2 separate regions of the Homo sapiens genome follow, and region 1 is linked to region 2. Evidence: promoter capture Hi-C in 16 types of primary human blood cells and fetal thymus (Javierre and others, 2016). All regions are on one chromosome and are shown on one strand. Each heading gives the region's core, a stretch centred on a gene start or on the middle of the fragment in contact. The rest is flanking DNA. Distances are from core to core; before and after follow the strand shown.

What was found. Contacts are between HindIII fragments. The CHiCAGO score rates a contact against its expected background, and 5 or more counts as called.
Region 1: a fragment that was not itself captured here is called in contact with the fragment with the promoter of VPS26C in region 2 in 1 of 17 cell types (endothelial precursors); the score reaches 6.1 in endothelial precursors.

Annotation. Positions count from the first base shown.
Region 1 is chr21:37,669,645-37,674,718 of GRCh38, forward strand. The region is part of intron 3 of KCNJ6 (potassium inwardly rectifying channel subfamily J member 6); the gene reads right to left. The region is part of intron 1 of KCNJ6-AS1 (KCNJ6 antisense RNA 1); the gene reads left to right. Among named protein-coding and RNA genes, the nearest start is that of KCNJ6-AS1, 150 kb to the left of the region's middle. The HindIII fragment of the contact is 972 bases long and covers 1,651-2,622 here.
Region 2 is chr21:37,264,988-37,270,514 of GRCh38, forward strand. VPS26C (VPS26 endosomal protein sorting factor C) reads right to left here and starts at 2,347. Exons shown (of 8, transcript NM_006052.2): 1 at 2,251-2,347. The coding sequence starts at 2,307. RefSeq lists silencers at 1,943-2,252, 2,993-3,152 and an enhancer at 2,393-2,452. The HindIII fragment of the contact is 6,761 bases long and covers 1-5,397 here.

The DNA of each region.
Region 1 (5,074 bases), core at 887-3,386, 400 kb after region 2:
AACAATGCTTTGGACATTTTCATGATGCTGAATCTACTGTTTGGAGCTTACAATAAGGAAATATGCAGAGACTCTGAAATGTCTTCACAGAATTGTAGCTGGAATAACATGGTTAAGATGGATATTCAAAATATTTGAAAATAATTTGAAAATATTTTCTCCCATTCTGTATGTTGTCTTTCACTTTCATGATAATGTATTTCAATGCATACAAGTTTTTTATTTTGATGAAGTTATATTTATATTTTTCTTTTGTTGCCTGTACTTGTGGTGTCACAGCTAAGAATCCATTGATGAATCCGAAGTCATGAAGATTTACCCCTGTGTTTTCTTCTAAAGAGTCTTACAGCTTTTGCTCCTCTATTTAGGTCTTGATGCATTTTGAGTTTATTTTTGCAAATGTATGAGGTAGAGTTTCAACTAATTCTTTTGCATGTATATATCTAGTTGTCCCAGCACCATTTGTTGAAAAGAGGATTCTTTCCCATTAAATGATCTTAGTGTCCTCATGAAAGTCAATTATTCTAAGGTGTGCAGGTTTATTTCTGGACTCTAAATTCTATTCCACTGGTTTAGATGTCCATCCTTATGCCTTATATTCAGTCACTGCTTTAATTACTATAGTTTTATAGTAAGTTTTGAAATGAGGAAGTGTGAATCTTCTAATTTTGTTCTTTTTCAGCATTGTTTTGGCCATTTGGGGACCCTTGCATTTCCATATGAACTTGAGGATTGGGCTTTTTAGTTCTGCAAAATGGCCATTGGAATTTTGGCAGGGATAACATTAAATCTGCAGATCACTTTGGGTAGTACTGCCATCTTAATAATATTAAGCCTGGGCTGAGTGCAGTGGCTCACACCTGTAATCTCAGCACTTTGGGAGGCTGAGGTGTGCAGATAACTTGAGCTCAGGAGTTTGAAACCAGCCGGGGCAACGTGGTGAAACCATGTCTCTCCTAAAAATACAAAAGTTAGCTGGGCATGGTGGTGCATGCTTGTAGTCCCAGCTACTTGGAGGGCTGAGGTGGGAGAATTACTTGAGCCTGGGAGGCAGAGGCTGCAGTCACCCAAGATCGTGCCACTGCACTCCAGCCTGGGTGACAGAATAAGACCCTGTCTCAAAAAGACAAAACAAAACAAAGCAAAAATAATATTAAGCCCTCCAACCTATAAGCACAGGATGTTATTCCATTTATTTAGATATTCTTTCATTTCTTTCAGCAGGACCTTATGATTTTCAGTATATGAGTTTTCACTTCCTTGGTTTGAACTTAGGTATTTTATTTCATTTTTTGGATGCTATTGTCAATGGGCCTGTTTTCTTAATTTCCTTTTTGAATTGTCCATTGCTAGTGTATTGTGATATTGTGAAATATATATTTGGCCTTTATCCCATTTCCTGATACATAGCTCCTAAAACCACTAGAATCTCTGGAGTGTTAAGAATGTCTTTTGTTTGCTACTGAGATGACTGGCAGCTGCAGACCTCTAGATAGCTTCCGGGTGGGGGCTGGCCACCTGAAAGACCATGGCATGATTAGAAGGTTGAGACTTTCGGTCCCACCCCCAACCTCCAGGGAAGGGAAGGGGGTTGAAGGTTCAGTTGATCACCAATGGCCAATGATATCATTACTCATGCCTACATAATGAAGCTTCCATAGAAAAGCAAAAGGACTGAGTTCTGGGGGCTTCTGGAAAGCTGAACACATGGATGTTCCTGGAAGGGGTTAACCCAGGGAGGGCGTGCCCCTCTTCTTGCCTCTTCTCCCACACTTTGCCCTGTACCCTTCTTCCTTCTGGCTGCTCATCTGTACCCTTAATTATATCCTTTATAATAAATGGGTAGGTGTAAGTAGAGTGGTTCCCTGAGTTCTGTGAACTGCTTTCGCAAATTAATTGAATCCCAGGATGGGGTTGCGGGAACTCCCAATTTACAGCCAGTTGGTCAGAAGCACAGGCCACAACCTGTGCTTGCGACTGGCATCTGCCGGGGTGGGGCAGGCTTGTGGGGCTGAGCCCTCACCCTGTGGGATCTGACACTGCCTGCAGGTAGACAGTGTCAGAGCTGAACTGAATTAGGGAACACACAGGGGTGTCCACTGGAGAATGACCTGCAGCACTGGTTGTTGTTGGAGAAACCCCAACAGCCCTCTGGAGTCATGGAAGTGTTATCTGTTGTAAGAGTATAGTACGAGATGCGGAGTTTGTTTCTTCCTAGGTCCTTATGTATAGAAATTCAACATTTTTTTTTGTGTTGATCTTGTACTCTACAACTTTTCTGAATTTGTTTATTGGCTCTCGTAGTATTTTTGTGGATTCTTTGGGGTTTTCTCTGTATAAGATCATGTTATCTTTGAATAGAACTAGTTTTACTTCTTTCCAATTGGAATACTTTCTGTTTCTTTTTTTTACTTAATTGCTCTGGAGGGAATTGTGTCTTGACCCATTCTCTACCTGTAGTCTAGGAGGGATTGACCCCATCTCTTAAGGGTGATCCCTGCTTGGCTTAAGCAAGTCCATAGAGCTCATCTGCTTGTCCCCAGTGATTGGGTCGGAAATGGCATATGACCTCCTTAAGGACAATGAGATGCAAAGAAATATAGCTTTAGCTTCTAGGAAGGAAGCTTCTCTTTTCTGTGGAAGCTTCTGGAAGAGATCCTGACTCTTCTGCTTGTGAGAAGTTGGGGCCTGAAATGTGGTGGACACTTCTGCTACCATGAAAGAAGTAGTCTAAGGATGACGGTGATGCAGAAGGAAGGGAAAGCAGGAGACCTGGAGAAAAGGAGCTGGGTCTGGGGGTCATCTCAGCGCCTAGGAACCGGCAGCATCGGAAGTCCTCTCCCCCTGGGTTTTTGGTTGTATGAGCTAAGACATCCTCAATTTTTTTTTCTTTTTTCATAAGTCAGTTTGGGTTCTCTGACATCTCTTTTTACTTGAAAATGTTAAAGTTCAAGATACATGGTATATCCTTAGCTTAGTATAAACTTATCAGCTATGGTTGTTTCACTTGGACTTTTTACCTAATCAAAAAGGAAATAAAGATGTAATACACATGTAAGGAGATGGTAGGTTTTTCTCTCTTTCTCTTTTTCTCCCTTCCCCTTCCCTTCCCTTCCTTTCTCTTTCTTTCTTCTCTCTCTCTCTGTTTTCTTGAGATAGGATCTGGCTATGTGGCTAAGGTGGGAGTGCAGTGGTACCATCACAGCTTACTGCAGCCTCGAACTCCTGGGCTAAAGTGGTCCTCCTGTCTCAGCCTCCCAAGTAGCTGGGACTACAGGTGCATGCTGCTGTGCCCTGTTAATTATTTTATTTTTTGTAGAGACAGAGTCTTGCTACATTGTCCAGGCCAGATTTTTCTTTTAAGTGTGGTAAATGCTATAAAAGTCTCCTTTTTACATTATTCTCAAAACGTTTTTAATGAGCAATAATATTCATTATTGAATGCAAAATGAGAGAGAGAAAACAAAGGAGGAGAAGAAGAATTGAGAGGAGACGGGGACAGGTAAGACAGCATGAGGGAAAGAGGAGTGGTGGAAATGGAGCAGAGGCTGGAGGAAGAGGGTTGGGACCTGAACCATCTCTAGGGCTATGGCCGATAGGCCCAGGGGCAGCCTGCTGGAGCTAGGGAAGTGGGTGGTTGTCCATCAGCTTTCCTGGGTGGTCCCATTACTGGGAGGCTTCCATCTCCAGCTGGACTGTCCTGCAGCTTCCTTTGGCTGGGCTGCCCCTGTCCCCTCCCCCTCTTCCAGTCCTGTTTCTTTCCAGGAGCCGGCTCCTTGGAGCTCATCCATCCTCCTTCCTGGGGCTCCAGGCTTCCTTTTCTCAGGGATAGGATTTGTCTCTCAGCTTCAGAAATGAGGGTGCATCTCAGAGCAGCACTTTTCCTGGCCCAGTGGCTGGGCTCACTTGTGTCTGTGTTGTGTCCAACTCACTCATCACACACCTGTTGTGGATAGGACACAACACAGGGACACAGGGATGAGACAGAAATGAGGACACAGGCACTGACATGCATAACCAGCAGACAGATGGGTATGTTTAATTTTAGAGGTGTGTTCAGAGTTAGAGGGGGACAGGGAAGGGAGGGATTCTCTAGGCAGGACTGAAGCAGGGAAGTCTTTACAAAAGATGTGCTGGGCTTTGAAGGATGAGTAGGAGTTGATCAGGCAAACCAGTGGAGGAAAGAAGGGGAAGGGGCTCTCATTGGGGCTCATCCTGGCTGCACATCGGAGACACCTGGAGGAGCCTTGGGAGAGAAGATGGCCAAAGAGCAGGGAGAGCTGATGCTGTTCCCTCAGGGTTTACCTGTTTGCTTCCATGCTGTGACTTTGAGCCCTGTGATTTCCCTTAGTGATGACAGCATATCCCAACCATGTGAAGTCTAACTGCCCTCTAGCCAGTGTAAACAGGCTATTCTGGAGTGTGGGGCCAGGGGAGAACCTTCAGATCCCTGAAATATGCCCCAGATATGGTTTGCGGAACTCAACGGCATCTTTTTCACCTTCAACCCAACCTGTCCCCAATGTCAGCTCTCAGCTGAGTTACTGCAGCAAACCTTTCCCCAGTTACTGGCTGCTATCTGCACATTGTGTGACCAACTAATCTCTGTTTGCCTGGGACTTACCCACATTTAGCATTGAATGTCCCACATCCCGGAAATCCCTCAGTCCCAAGCAAATGAGGACAGTTGGTCATCTACAGCTCACACGCCAACCACAGCCATCCTTTCAAAATGCATGTAATGTCATGCCACTCTTTGCTCGACACCCTCCAGGGCTCCCCTCTCAGAGCAAAAGCCACACAAAGCTCTCCCTGGCCTGGTGCCTGTGACCTCACTCGCCTCCTCTCTGCCCACTCCCCTCCTCACCCACTGGCTCCGCCGAGTCAGGCCTCCTTGATGCTTCTCCAAGCTTCCTTTCACCACAGGGCCTTTGCATGCAGGTCCTCTCTGCTTGGAACACTCTCTCCCTGATACCCACAGGGCTCACACCTCCTCTCACCCAGGATGGATCTAGTATTAGCTCTGCAGGGACAGCTTCCCTGACTCCCCTATACCTCACGTACTTCACCCCCT
Region 2 (5,527 bases), core at 1,097-3,596:
AGCATGAACACTGAACATTACTCGAAGTAAAAGAAGCCTGTCAGTCAAAAGGGCCACATAGTGTACGATTCCATTTATATGAAATGTCAAGAATAGGCAACTCCAGAGACAAAGTCAATTTGTGACTGCCAGGGGTCAGGAGGGAGGGGGAATGAGGAGTGACAGCTAATGGGTTCAGGGTTTCTTTTTGGGGTGAAAATGTTCTAGAATTAGATCGTGGTGATGGGTGTGCAACTCTGCAAATACACTAAAAAACTACTGAATTGTATACTTTCAAAGGGTAAATTTCGTATTTTAAATTATCTTTATAAAGCTGTTTTTAAAAAGAATACAAAGTAGACCCATGTAGCTTTTAACTTCATTCAGCAATTGTTAGTATTTTGCCACATTCACTTTCTTTCTCCTATACACATATGTGCATAAACATATGTGCACAGTCTACGGCTTGACACTTTGATCCTAAATACTTCAGCATGTGGAGTATTCTACATAACCAAAATATAAATATTACACTGGAGAAATTCAACACCAATATACAACAATTATAGTCCATAGTCGAATTTATATTTTATCAGAAATTAAGCATTCTATTTGGTTCTCATGTCCCTTTAGTCTTATAGTCTAGAAAAATTATCTCGCCTTTATTTTTTGACACTGATATTTCCGAAGAATCCACGCTACTTGTTTCACAGAATGCCCTTCAATTTGGATATTCCTTATTGTTTCCTTATGAACTGATACGGATTAAACATTTTTGGCAGGAATACTACATAGGTGAGTTGTGGCCTTCTCTGTGCATCATGCCAAGGGGTACCGAATGTCAGTCGTCTCATTAGTTGTGATGGTGAAGTGGTGTTCATTGTTGTGCTTGGCTAGAGGAGTGTGACTACCAGATTTCTCCATTATAAAGGTAGCTTTTTCTCTTTTTTTTTTTTTTTTTTTTTTTTTGAGACGGGGTCTCACTCTGTTGCCCAGGCTGGAGTGCAGTGGCACAATCTCGTCTCACTGCAGCCTCCGCCTCCCGGGTTCCAGCGATTTTTCTGCCTCAGCCTCCCTGGTAGCTTGGATTAGAGGCGTCCGCCACCACGCCCGGTTAATTTTTGTATTTTTAGTAGAGACCAGGTTTCACCATGTTGGCCAGGCTGGTCTCGAACTCCTGACCTCAGGTGATCCGCCCGCCTCGGCCTCCCAAAGTGCTGGTAATACAAGCGTGAGCCACCGCGCGGGCCAGATTTTTCCCTTTGTAATTAACCATCAAGGGGATGACCATTTGAGCTTGTGTAAATAAGAGCAGGCTTCCCTAGTTGTCTTTTGCCCAAAAGTTTTAGCATCCATCCAAGACCTTTGTCTGAAATTCTGTCCCTTTTGAGATTACTTTGCATTAATATGACCAACCACTGCGATCAATTTTATTCCAAAGAGTGTTGGGGCTGTGATTTCAACCCTAGCTGCACATATATCACCGGTATCGCTGGGAGTGGAACCCAAGCAATCATATTTTAAAATTCTCCAGGATGACTGATTCTGATGTAGAGTAAGGGTTGAGATTCCCCGAGTTAGAGGAACCTTACAACACCCTCATTTGCAAATAAGGACACTGAGGCCCAAGGAGGTTAAATGACTGGCCAATGTCACAAAACCTGTTAATGGCATAGTCAAGATTTTACTTTTTTATACTTGCATTTTAATAGCCATTCCTTTGTGTCAGTCGAAGAATAAAACCAGAAAAAGCAGTAACTTTCGTAGTATGTTAGTATGTTGTTAAAAGTGACTACCATCTAATATATGCTGCCGCCAGACATACCCATTTCTGCTTCCAAGGTTTGTTTTAGCTTTCGTTCATTAGACCTTTGCGGTCACCTTAGGAGAGAGGGAAAGGGGAGTTTGGTCGTCAACTCCTCCGCCCTCAGCGCTCACTGAGGGAGCTCAAGCCTGAGAACCCAACACCGCCGGGTGTTCAAGGGGCCAGATGGGAAGAGCGCAGCCCCGGAGCTGGGCGCCTGCCCTGCACGTCCCGCAGATGCGGCGGCGGCGCCTGCCCTGGGGCCTCCTCGCAGGGCAGCCAGCCTCGCGCGGGAAGCACCTGGCGGGGACGCACCTGGCGGGAACGCACCCACCTTGGCGGAGACGCACCTGGCGGGACAGCCCTGCCCCGCCTAGGGACGCGGGACGTGCGCAGAGCGATGGAGACAGCGGAACCTGCAGACCCGCCCAACCCCACCTCCATCCCCACCCCCAGCCCCCACTTACCCCGGCGTGATAAACTTTATTCGCTCTTTTAATCTTGATGTCCAGGGCGGTCCCCATCTCCAATTCTCCGCAGCAGCCGCCACTTCCGGCTGCGCGTGACCCCAGGGAAACAAGGGGCGCCTCCCCGCTTCGTTCTGGGCCCCGCCCCTTTCCCTCTCTGCCGGCAGTGGCTCACGTGACCTCGCAGCGGCGTCGCACACACTCCCTAGCTCCGAGGGGCGAATGCCCACGCCTTCCTCCTTCCGGCACAAGAGCCGGCCTTAGTGCGGGCCGAAGCGCTGTCACGGTTCACCCCGCCCCCTCTGGGCGTGAAAGACGGGGCCAAGCTAGCCCCACCCCTTCCGTAGGGACAGTCTTACGCCGGAAATGCTCCTTTGCTGTCCGGGTTAGCGGAGGGAGGGAGGAACGGCTCTCCCCGCGTGCCCCGCGGCTGGAGGCGGAGCCGAGCCTGTCTGTCGGTTGCAGCCTGCGCAGGAAGGATGACGCTCCCGTCAGGCTGTGCGGCGCAGACGGTCGCCCAATGGAGTTGTCTTTCAGGAGGTTTTAACTTGGTAATGCCTGCCCTCCTCAAATGTCCTTAGTCTCCTCAACTCTAGCCCTCCACCGCTTTCTCCCTGGGGTTCTGAAGAGCCGGCGCCCCCTTGTCTGTCTGCGGCCAGGCGCCGCACCCTGCCCTTCCCGCGGGAGCGGTTCCGGTCACCCTCAGGGGTGCGGCCCCTGCGTGCTAGTCCTGCAAAGCGCTGATTGGCCGGCGGCTCGGTTGCCTCGCGTCCCAGCGCCAGCTGGGCCTAGGGCCAAGGTCTCGGGAAGCGCCGGGTGACCTCGCTCCTCTCGGAGCCGCGGGCGCTGGGTCACCCGCCAGCCGGGCTCCGCGGGCCGCGAGGGATTGTGGGTGTTCCCCAGGCGCGTGTCCTGGAACCGGGTGTTAAATATTCAGATCCGTGCGCCCCGCGTGAAGGGTGGAAAGGCACGGCCCCCAGGCTCTGGGGCTTGGAGATTGGTTGCAAATGAAAGACTGAAAGCTGGAGTGAATCTGCCTATTATTTTTATTCCCAGCAACAGCTGACCCCAGATACAGTTTGTGGGGGTGGGGGGCGTTACTGCAGGGCAGGGCAGTGCACTGTTAACGTACTTCGTTTATTGAGTTAAAATCTCTTGTAAATGTTATAAATGAGGATTTTGCCAATAAGCAGAAGGTCAAATTTCATTTTGACAAATGATTTAATTAAATAATGCGGTGAAAAGTGCTTTTTGTTTAAATTCTTTGCTTTTTGTTTAAATTCTTTGATTCTGATCATTATTTTTTAAAGTGCATTGCTTTTGGGATAACATCAGAAACTATCTGTAAAAAGAATTAGTATCACGAATGCCTCCCTCTTAAGAATATAAAATGTTTTACAGGCCAGCAGTGATGGTGCTGCAGCTACAATTGCATTTGAAGGTTAATAAATGGTATTTTCAAATATTCAGGTCTTGGTTTGCAGCTCCTCTCTGCCCTCAGGGCTTTGGTCTCTGTCTTCAATGTTTTCCTGGCAATTCAAAACTCAGCGATTTTAGAACAATTCATTAGGGACTTGAAAATCACAGTCTAGTCTATTTGAATTCAAGAAGTGGATCCCTTTCCGCTAGACTCACCCATCATTTTCAAGTGGTAAAAAATCAATCTCAGTAGACACTGCAGAGAAACAGGAAAAGAAACACATGTATCAACATTGTATACTTGGTTTTTTTGTTTTGTTTTGTTGTTGAGACGGAGTCTCGCTCTGTCGCCCAGGCTGGAGTGCAGTGGTGCTATCTTGGTTCACTGCAACCTCCGCCTCCCAGGTTCAAGCGATTCTCCTGCCTCAGCCTCCCGAGCAGTTGGGACTACAGGCATGCGCCACCATTCCCAGCTAATTTTTGTATTAGTAGAGATGGGGTTTCACCATGTTGGCCATGCTGGTCTCGAACTCCTGACCTCATGATCCACCCGTCTCGGCTTCCCAAAGTGCTGGGACTACAGGGGTGAGCCACTGCGCCCAGCCTCCAATCGCTATCCTTTTAAATCTTTTCCATCCCTCACTCACACCTTAGATGATACCTTAACTTTCTGGTCCATTTGAGTTACCAAAAATCAGACCGTGTTAAAGTGTCGATCTCATGTCTCAAGTGGGACCCTAAATCCCTTAGTGTGAGTGGGAAGGTGCAAAGCGTGGTTCTGGCATGCAGACACTTCTCAACGTACCTCTGCAAGGCCTGGCTTCTGTGTTGAGATAAGGAAGAGGAGAGAAAATGAGACAAATATCTCTTAACTAGCCACTGCTGAATTTTCTTAGTTGATTCCTGCCTCTCTGGTAACTGTCTCGTTTAAAATTCCTTTCGTGGGGTACAGATGGGGAGGTCGGGTGGGGCCTTCTCCCTGCCGCACAGTTCCATGGGAGATCTTTTCCATCACCCGCCCCCGCCGCCGTCAGCACCGGGCAGTACACTCAGCCTCTCAGGCAAGATCACTCAGGACCATTTATCTTCCGCATAGGAAGAATTTGACCCAGGAGAAATACACATCTTTGCCACACAAAAGGGCTGGACTGAAGACCACCCCGTGGCTACTCCTCTCTCCCCTGCTATATCCCTCTTCAATTTTGTTGTTCCCCCTTGCCATACAGACAGGGATAAGTCAGCAAGAGTGCTGGAGGAACAGATCTGCAGGCAACAGATAGAATACCAGACTCCCCTTCCAGCAGGCCCTCTGATACCTTGGAGAGATTGTCCTATGTCCTTCCCAGCTACATCACTTCCCACCAGAAACACCGTCCTCCGCAATACCGACTGCCTCCTTTCATTCCTTCCCCTGCCTTCCTGTATAGATTGAGGAGAGGACTGGGGAAGTATTTGGTGGAAGCGGGGCCAGATCTGCAGCTTTTTATTAAGCCCTGGGGGAAGTGGCCCCAATTATAGGCATCTTTCATTAGGAGATGGAGTACTATGCCTGTAGTTTTCCATTGTGAGCCTAGTGCCAATTCTGGGACAATAGTAGAGGTCCCACTAAACATCTTTAAGTGGGTGCTATGATTCTCTGCGCAGACTCTTCCTGCAGGACTGGAGGACATGTTCCCTGAGCTGCTAGGAGTATTGGTCTCAACAGTTTTCAGCTAAGTCACTCTTCAAAGCTTGGCTTTAATGAAGAAAACTGCCTTGCCCAAGGTCATTCCCCCTTCTAGGGGGCAGCCCACACTTGACAATTAATCCATTTAGGATATAGAGGCCTCTCCGTTGTTCCAGTTTAGGACAACTCTGA